Linked DNA regions of Homo sapiens: region 2 is linked to region 1. Evidence: promoter capture Hi-C in human tissues and cell types (Jung and others, 2019). All regions are on one chromosome and are shown on one strand. The core of a region is centred on a gene start or on the middle of the fragment in contact, and the rest is flanking DNA. Distances in the headings are between cores, read along the strand shown.

Region 1 (3,866 bases), core at 440-2,939:
TAACAAACGTTCTTCAGATCACATGGAGAAGCAAGGGCAAAACAGATCTAAAGTCAGCACAACCCACACAGGACTGAGACTCCCCTGGGCAGAGAGGGACTCCCAGTTCACAGCCAGAGCCCCCACACCCAGCCCTACTCACCCTCCTTGTCTTGAATTTTGGCTTTGACATTCTCAATGGTGTCACTGGGCTCGACCTCAAGGGTGATGGTTTTGCCAGTGAGGGTCTTCACAAAGATCTGCATGTTTGCGTCTGCAGGAGGAAGGGAGGCAGGATAGACTGGTGAGCAATGCATGCCTGAGTAGCACAAGCTCAGGTGCCTACACCACAGTTGCTATCCCTTTGCCTGCACCAAGTCCAACTGGTCCTGCCCCAGTACCTGTCTTCCTTTCACTCCTCCAAGCCTGGCCCTGCTAGGCTTCTCACACACCCTGGCCTGTAGTCTAAACATGTCCTGGAACTAAAGACCACATGTCCTCCACCCTCCTGACCGCACGGGTGCTCTTCAGGAACACAGACTGTGGTTATTCTCCTTAGGTTTAGCGGCGGAAGGACTCGTCAGTATCTCCTGATGGAATAAGTACCCTTTGGCATCATCTTGCTAGATCCATCTTCCCTGAAGGCGGTCCCACCCTCTTCCACGGCAGCCAGGTCCTGATCTGCACAGGCTGCTCCTGCTGCCAGCCTGGATGGGAAGCCATCCCCTACAACACACATGCCTTCCTGTCGCAGCCTCTCTCCTCTCTAACTCCAAGCTGGAGCACCCAACACTCTTAGCTTCCTTCTCAATTACACCAAAACTCTCCAGACCCCACTTCTTGCCTTGACCCCAAACCACGAACATCACTTAGTATCTACCAACCACCTGCCAAGCATTGTTCACATATAAAAGTTGACTTAAAAAGACAAAGAATCGACCGGGCGCAGGGGCTCATGCCTGTAATCCCAGCACTTTGGAAGGCCGAGGCAGACGGATCATTTGAGGTCAAGAGTTCAAGATGAGCCTGGCTAACATGGTGAAACTCCGTCTCTACTAAAACTACAAAAATCAACTGGGCGTGGTGGCAGGCGCCTATAATCCCAGCTACTCGGGAGGCTGAGGCAGAAGAATCGCTCGAGCCCGGGAGGTGGAGATTGCAGTGAGCCGAGACCGCACCACTGAACTCCAGCTTAGGCGACAGAGCAAGACTCCATCTGAAAAAAATACAAATAGTCTAAAGAAAAGTCTAAAAAGCAGACACTACCACCAGCTCCTCCTTACAGACGTAGTAATGGAGCCAGGTATGAAGACTCAGCTCGAGAAATTTAGTATTTCCAAAGCGACTGACGCAGTGACTGGCAGAGTTAACGCTACACGCTCAATACCCCTCTCTCATTAACTCGGATCTGCCCCGAGGACCTCTTCCCGCCCGAGGCCTCGTGGGGTCACGCTGGCAGGCAGAGCAGGCAGGCTCCTCTCCAAAACGGCGCTCGCCTCCTGGGCCCCGGTCTGGGCTCCGAGCCGTGGCCTCGCGAGCCCTGCCCAGCCACCCTGCCGAGACTGGCCCGCATGAGCCAGCTCAGGGCCGCCTCTTCTGCCGCCCAGGCCCCTGCAGCCTCCCGCAGCCCCCAACCCGCTCTCGGCCCGGCGCGAACCCGCACGACCGCCGCCACCAACCAGCTCGGCCGCCTCGCTGAAGAAAAAGAAGATAGCGGAACCGGAAACCACCTAATCGCCGCCGAAAGCGCTTGCGCACGGAGCACGCCGGACGCCTGCGTCACAATTCGCGCCGCGCCTTGGGCCCCGCCCTGCCGCCATCTTGGATGCTGGCGAACGAAGCCGCAGCGCACGTGGGTGAAGGTCGCCCACCCGCTTCCGGTTGTGGGCCCCGCCCGCCGAGTCACTTGAGACGATTGCACCTCTCCCCGTGTTTGCGTCCGCTGCCTCTAGGCCACTGACAACCGCTGGCGGTTGGCGGGCCCTCAGCGAATAGCTGAACGGAGTAGAGGAGAATGTTTTCTAATAAAGCAAAGGTATTAAGCAGAGGACTGCGGGTCCAGGACGCAGGAGTCGGGGCTGGGAAAGCACCTAACACCTGGAATCGGTTATTATAAAGCTCTCGGCCGCTGTGCCTGAATGGATTTCAGGACAGCAGCAGGGAGAGCAGACGGTACTACCGCATTCGCCCAGAAAGGTGGTGGTGCCTGACAAAAGGTGTCAAGCGGGACTCAGGATTTTTTTTTTTTTTTTTTTTGAGACGGAGTTTCGCTCTCGTTGCCCAGGCTGTAGTGCAATGGCGCGATCTCGGCTCACCGCAACCTCCGCCTCCTGGGTTCAAGCAATTCTCCTGCCTCAGCCTCCCGAGTAGCTGCGATTACAAGTGTGCGACACCATGCCTGGCCACTTTTGTATTTTTAGTAGAGACGGGGTTTCTCCATGTTGGTCAGGCTGGTCTCAAACTCGCGACCTCAGGTGATCCGCCCGCCTTGGCCTCCCAAAGTGCTGGGATTACAGACGTGAGCCACTGCAGTGTCTCTTTTCAGTGTAGGATCCAGATTTGTGGGTGGTTAAAAAGTGCCAGGGCGGGACCTGGGTCCGGTGACTCACGCCTGCACTTTGGGAGGCCGAGATGTGCGGATCACCTGAGGTCGGGAGTTCGAGACGAGCCTGACCAACATGGAGAAACCGCATCTCTACTAAAAATACAAAATTAGCTGGGCGTGGTGGCGCATGCCTGTAATCCCAGCTACTCAGGAGGCTGAGGCAGGAGAATCGCTTGAACCCGGGAGGCAGAGGTTGCAATTAGCCGAGAGAGTGCCATTGCACTACAGCCTGGGCAACAAGAGCAAAACTCCGTCTCAAAAAAGAAAAAAAAAATTACAAAAATTTTTCAGGTGTGGTGGCGGGTGCCTGTAATCCCAGCTACTCAGGAGGCTGAGGCAGGAGAATCGCTTGAATCCGGGAGGTGGAGGTTGCAGTGAGCTGAGTTCACGCCACTGCACCCAGCCTGGGTGACAGAGTGAGACTCCATCTCAAAAAAAAAAAAAAAAAAAAAAAGTGCCACGGCGGGTGCAGTGGTTCACACTTGTAATCCCAGCACTTTGGAAGGTCAAAGAGGGAGGATTACTTGAGGTCAGGAATTCACGACCAGCCTGGAAGACATAGTGAGACCCTGTCTCTACAAAAAAAAGTTTTATTTTGAACTATCCAGGTGTGGTGGTGCGCACCTGCAGTCCCAGCTACTTCGGAGGCAGGAGGATTGCCTGAACCCATAGGTTTGAGATTGCAGTGACCCATGATTCAGCCACTGCACTCCAGCCTGGGCAACAGAGAGGTGCTGTCTCAAAAACAAAACAAAAAAAAAAAGTGCTGAGTACAGAGAAGATGGGGAGCAATGAGAAGTTACCTATAGGCTTAACAGGGGTACCTGTTTATTTCCTTGAACATTTGCAGGCACTACTATACCAGGCAAAAGCAGACACTCTCACGTCTGGGAAGATGCCTTTAAGAACCTAATTTCCTTTTCTTTTTTGAGACAACAGTTTTGGTCTTTTTGCCCAGGCTAGAGTGCAGTGGTGCGATCTTGGCTCACTGCAACCTCTGCCTCCTGGATTCAAGCAATTCTGCCTCAGCCTCCCAAGTAGCTGGGATTACAGGTGTACACCACCACACCCAGCTAATTTTTATATTTTTGGTAGAGATGGGGTTTCACCATGTTGGCCAGGCTGGTCTCGAACTCCTGACCTCAGGTGATCCACCCACCTCGGCCTCCCAAAGTGCTGGGATTACAGGCATGAGCCACCAAGCCCGGTCATAACAACATAATTTCTAAGTACTCAGAAGATGAGGTAACCCTGGGAGTGTGTCTGATGGGGAATGGATCTA
Region 2 (4,431 bases), core at 1,277-3,776, 170 kb before region 1:
AGTTTGGTCATTGTTTAAGCGACTGTGTCCTGCTTTTCCACATGTAACCATGATGAGAGTTTGGTTTTGTTTCCAACAAGAAGGGGGCGGGGGGGGGGTGTCCAGCCACTGACCTTCTCCAGCTGGTGTCCGCGGGTGGTGAGAGGTACATGGTGCCATAGGGGCAGCTGTCGGCGTGAGGTGAGTTAAGGGGGCAGTGCCACTGGCTGAGACCCCGCCTCCAACAACACACTCTCAGCCCAGGGCAGGAAGCCCCGGCTGGCTGGCTGGGGTCGGCCTGAGGCCTGCAAACAGCTGGGACCAGTAGGGCGGGGGGCGTTTCCTGCCGGCCTTTCCTGCCTGGCTACAAGCAGCCCCCGTTCCAGGGGCTCTCCAGGGGTACAGCCCTGTCCACCTAGCACTCAGCACTCTGCTCCGTGAGCACACGTGCGGGCTGCACCCCTTCCAAGGGAGGGGGTTCTGGGCTGTGAAAGTAGGGCCTGTGGGGACGCTGTGGAGTCTGAGTTCAGCTGACCCTGGTCTGGACTCTCCATCCTGGGCTGACGGGGTGGCTCCTGGGGCCCAAGGGCTCAGTCTGGGGCCCAGCTGGTCAAGCTCCCCCAGCCCACGGAAATGAGAACCGGAGAACAAGCTTCTCTGTTCTGGAGAGCCGGGGGATCCCGGGAGCAACCTGAGGCCGCTCAGACTCTGGTGTTGTGGGGCCCGGCTGGCTGAGCACCAAGGGGCGGCTGAGTTGGGGGGGAGGGGGGGACTCTGGCTGATCTCTGCGTGACCGAGTCGCAGAGGCGAATTTTACTCCTGTCTTACAGAGATGGAGCCTCCCTTGGATGCGTCCGGGTCTCACACAGACCCCCTTAGCCCCATTGCCTTGGCTGGGCTGCCCTCCGTGCAGCGCGTAGGAGAGGCCTCATCAGCTCACAGCCCTGACTGTGGGCTCCCTGCTCACGGCCTTCCTGGCCCCACTGCCCTGCCAGGTGTCTAAGCCCTCTGTGGTCAGGTATAACCTTCCTCAACTCCTGCCTTGAGAGCTGTTCCCTGTGCCCCTTGAGCCCCCAAGTCTGGCCAAAGGCTCCAGGGCTTGTGGCACAGCCTCCTCCAGGAAGTCCCCCAGGCTGCCCTGAGATCAAGCCTCCCAGATGGTGCTGCCCTGATTCTGTCCCCAGAGCTGGAAGCAGGCAGCCCTGTCAGAACCTGCTGGGTAAACTTGGGGTCCTGCCGGCACCGACAGGGCCTGGCCCCCACCCTCATCCTCTGGTGAAAAGGATATCTGCCGTCCGTGTTTGTCCACTGACAGGGGCCGGCGGTGTGGGGAGCCGAGCCGGCCACGCTCCCGGTACACCCTGTCCACCAGCCCATGGTGCCGGGTGGTCCGGCTGGTGTCCAGGCCCGAGGATTGGAAGGGGGTCTGGGGGAGGAGGAGATGGAAACAGAGAGAGAGAAATCCAAACAATGGTTACCAGCTGTGGCCCCAGCGCTGGCCCCAGAGTCTGATCGCAGGGCCCCCCACTCTGGAGCACCCTCGGCCATCGCTCCACAGCCTGGGATGGGCTTCTTCCTTCAGCCCCAGCTCCCTGGCTCTCCAAGCACTGGGGGGTAGGGAGGGGGTGTGAGCTGGGGTCCCGGGAGCCAGGGTGGCAGGGGCGTGCAGTGCAGCTGGCATGCACAGGCCAGGCAGAGCGGCACAAGCTCGGGGCCAGCGCCCGCCGGGTGCCAGGGATGTAGCCGGCCTAGGCAGCCCTCCTCCCCAGTCTCACCAGGTGCAGACAGGCCTCCGCCCTCTCTCTCCGGGCCTGGACGGCCTCCTACCCCCACCTACGTCATCCCTGGAGGGGCCTGCCAAGAGACAGCCCAGGGGCTTCCAGCCCAGGACTGTTTCGGGGCCCACCTGGCCAAGCGCGAGTTCCTGGGAGGCTTCCTTGTGGAGCCCAGGGCTGCTCTTGATTGAGACGCGGCCCCCACACACCCTCCCCCGCAGCCTCCTCCAGGCACTCCAGGCACCACCAGAGCCAAGTACAGGCGCCTTCCGGAGCCATGGCCCACTGCTTGGCTGGATGGGGCTTCCTCCCAGCACCTGGGGCTGGCACCAGGCTGGCCCTCCCCAGGCCCTGCTACATGCCCGGCCTCATGCCCCCGGGGCTGCCAGGAGCCCGCCCTGACCCTGTGTTGCCCACTTGCCATCTGACTGGGGTGAGATCAGCAGGCTCTGCCAGCTTTGGATGCAGCCAATCCCCCAGTCCGGCCATCTGGCCCCTGAGCCCTTATGCCTTCTCTGGGCAGCCGGGCAAAATGAGACTCTGATACTAAAGTGAGTCTCCTCTCCAGAAGCCTGTCCATGGCTAGGATTGCTGCTTTGTCCCAGCCTCGGCCAGAGTTCAGGGCTGACTACTGTCCCCAGCCCTGGGGACCCCCAAGTCTTTCTTCGATCCAGCATGAACTCTGCTGGTTTGGGTCTTTCCGTGGCTCTTGCCCCCAAAAGGCTGTGGGCATGGGAGACGTGGGCCTGTGACGATGAGGGTGGGAACTGTGCTGTCCAGTGCACAGGCTCCTCAGGGTAGGGGCAATTCATCTCCTTCCAGAGATGCCTTGAAGCCCAGAGGGAAACTGAGGCAGCCAAAGCCAAGTCAGAGGCAGAATGAAGCGGGGGCTGGCCACACCCGGGCTCGCCACGTCCTGCCTGCTGGCCTGGTTTGGGAGATGCGTGCACACGTGTGTGTATGTGTGTGTGTGTGTGTGTGTTTGTGTGTGTGTGTATATAGGGACGGACCATGCAGCTTTGGGGCACATGCTGGGATTCTGCTCTGCTGGACCCCAGATGGGGATGCGCGGCTATGGCATCTGCCCCAGATGGACCCCAAGAGTCCCCAGGGCCTCTCGACGCGACCATACGCACTTCCCGAGATGGGGGTGCGGAGTGGATCCATTTCCATTTGGCGGACGGGACACCTCCACCTCCCTGGGAGCCGCAGGGGCGGCCGCTTGGGGAGCTCAGGGATCCCCAGCGCCCGCACACGGGTCGGGGTCTTGCAGGCTGGCGCCGGGGACGCCGCGGCCTCAGCCTGGGGGCTCATTTACCAGAGAGACAGGAGCCGCTGCCAGGGCCTCCCCCAGAAATCCGCTGGGCTGAAAATGCAAAGAACCGAGACTTTGAGACGCTGCTGCCTTGCCTGGCCCCAAAGGCGGGATGCGTGGGACCTCCCCCCGGGCTGTGGGCCTCGGGCGACAGACACCCAACAGGGTCCTGTGCCCCTCAGCCCCACTCAGGCTGAGCTTGCAAGGTGCCCAGAGAGAGACTCTCCTCCAGGGAAGAGGGGACAGGAGAAACAGGAAAGGGAGAGAAGGGCAGGAGGGGAGAAAACCTGGCCAGGAAGGGCTGTGACAAAGAACACGCCCAGCATCAGTGATGGCCCGCACTCTGTATGCCGGAGGAGGCGCACCGTGGTGGCCAGCCCAAGGATCCCTGCCCTGTCCAGCGGCGGTGCAGGTGGCGGTGGAGCTGGTGGGTGACTTGGGAGGGGCCCCGGCTCCATCTGGCCTGTCAGTGGCCATGGCTGTGTCCGAGGTGGTTTTCTCAGCCACAGAGTAGGTGTGACCCCCCCCCAGGGGGACCTGTCCATGCAGAGCCCAGACACCGTCCTGGGGGTGGCCCTGATTCATAGGCCAGCTCCCTCGGCCCCACCCCATCCCCATCTCCACCCGCAGACCAGGGACAGGGAAGAGGGCCGCTGTGGGCCTTATCTCCTGTTTACGATAAGGCTGTGCACGGCGGCTGTGCGGCCTGCGGGAGCCGCGCTGTGTGGGCCTCTGCCAAGAAACGTTTGCAGACAAGTGGGGTCAGGCCGCCGGGCCTCCTTCTGAGAATTGCTGGGCTTGCGGATTAGTGAGGCAGGACAGAGCCAAGCCCCAGTGGCCCCGAGCGGTTCCCGCTGCCGCACAGCCGGCCAACAGGTGTAGCGGCTGCCGAAATGCTGGAGGCCAGATGGAGGGCTCGCCTCGGGGTCTGCTGATGGGGAATGGGCTGCGGGGGCACCCTGGTGGGGCCACTCTGCTTCCTCTGGTTCCCAGGGCAGACAAGGAGAAGGCAGTGGTTGGGTGGGCTCCGCCAACTGTCTGATAACCCCAGCTGTCCTCAATGTCTGGCCCCCAGTGGGAGGCTGGGGGAAGCTCCCCACAATGGGGCAGGGCCAGGGGGCGGGGCACTCACCTGGAAGGGCAGGTCCATGGTGCCACTCCCGATCTGGTTCACGTTGGGCAGGGACCCGCCATAGTACTGGCCTCGGCTGGGGCCCAGTTGCAGGTACTGGGATTTCTGGAGCTGGAGCTGCGAGAGAGAAGCCAGCAGCTGCGGGAGGGGTCACCTCCCAGGCTCACCTCAGAGTGCCAGCCCCAAAGGCACAAAAAGACCCAAGTGGTGGGATTGACAGCCTAAGTGCA

What was found. The method cuts DNA at HindIII sites, captures the fragments that hold promoters and counts their contacts. A contact is called where the count stands out against the background at its distance.
Region 2: a contact is called between a fragment that was not itself captured here and the fragment with the promoter of UBA52 in region 1, in 1 of the 25 tissues and cell types used here (mesenchymal stem cells).

What each region holds. Positions count from the first base shown.
Region 1 is chr19:18,569,680-18,573,545 of GRCh38, reverse strand. It overlaps UBA52 (ubiquitin A-52 residue ribosomal protein fusion product 1), which reads right to left and starts at 1,689. Exons shown (of 5, transcript NM_001033930.3): 1 at 1,637-1,689; 2 at 143-253. The coding sequence starts at 245. RefSeq lists enhancers at 324-1,000, 1,639-1,978, 2,189-2,308, 1,679-2,355. The HindIII fragment of the contact is 7,230 bases long and covers 1-3,866 here.
Region 2 is chr19:18,742,797-18,747,227 of GRCh38, reverse strand. CRTC1 (CREB regulated transcription coactivator 1) reads right to left here. Exons shown (of 14, transcript NM_015321.3): 2 at 4,202-4,318; 3 at 1,268-1,405; 4 at 114-175. Among named protein-coding and RNA genes, the nearest start is that of COMP, 46 kb to the left of the region's middle. The HindIII fragment of the contact is 7,147 bases long and covers 1-4,431 here.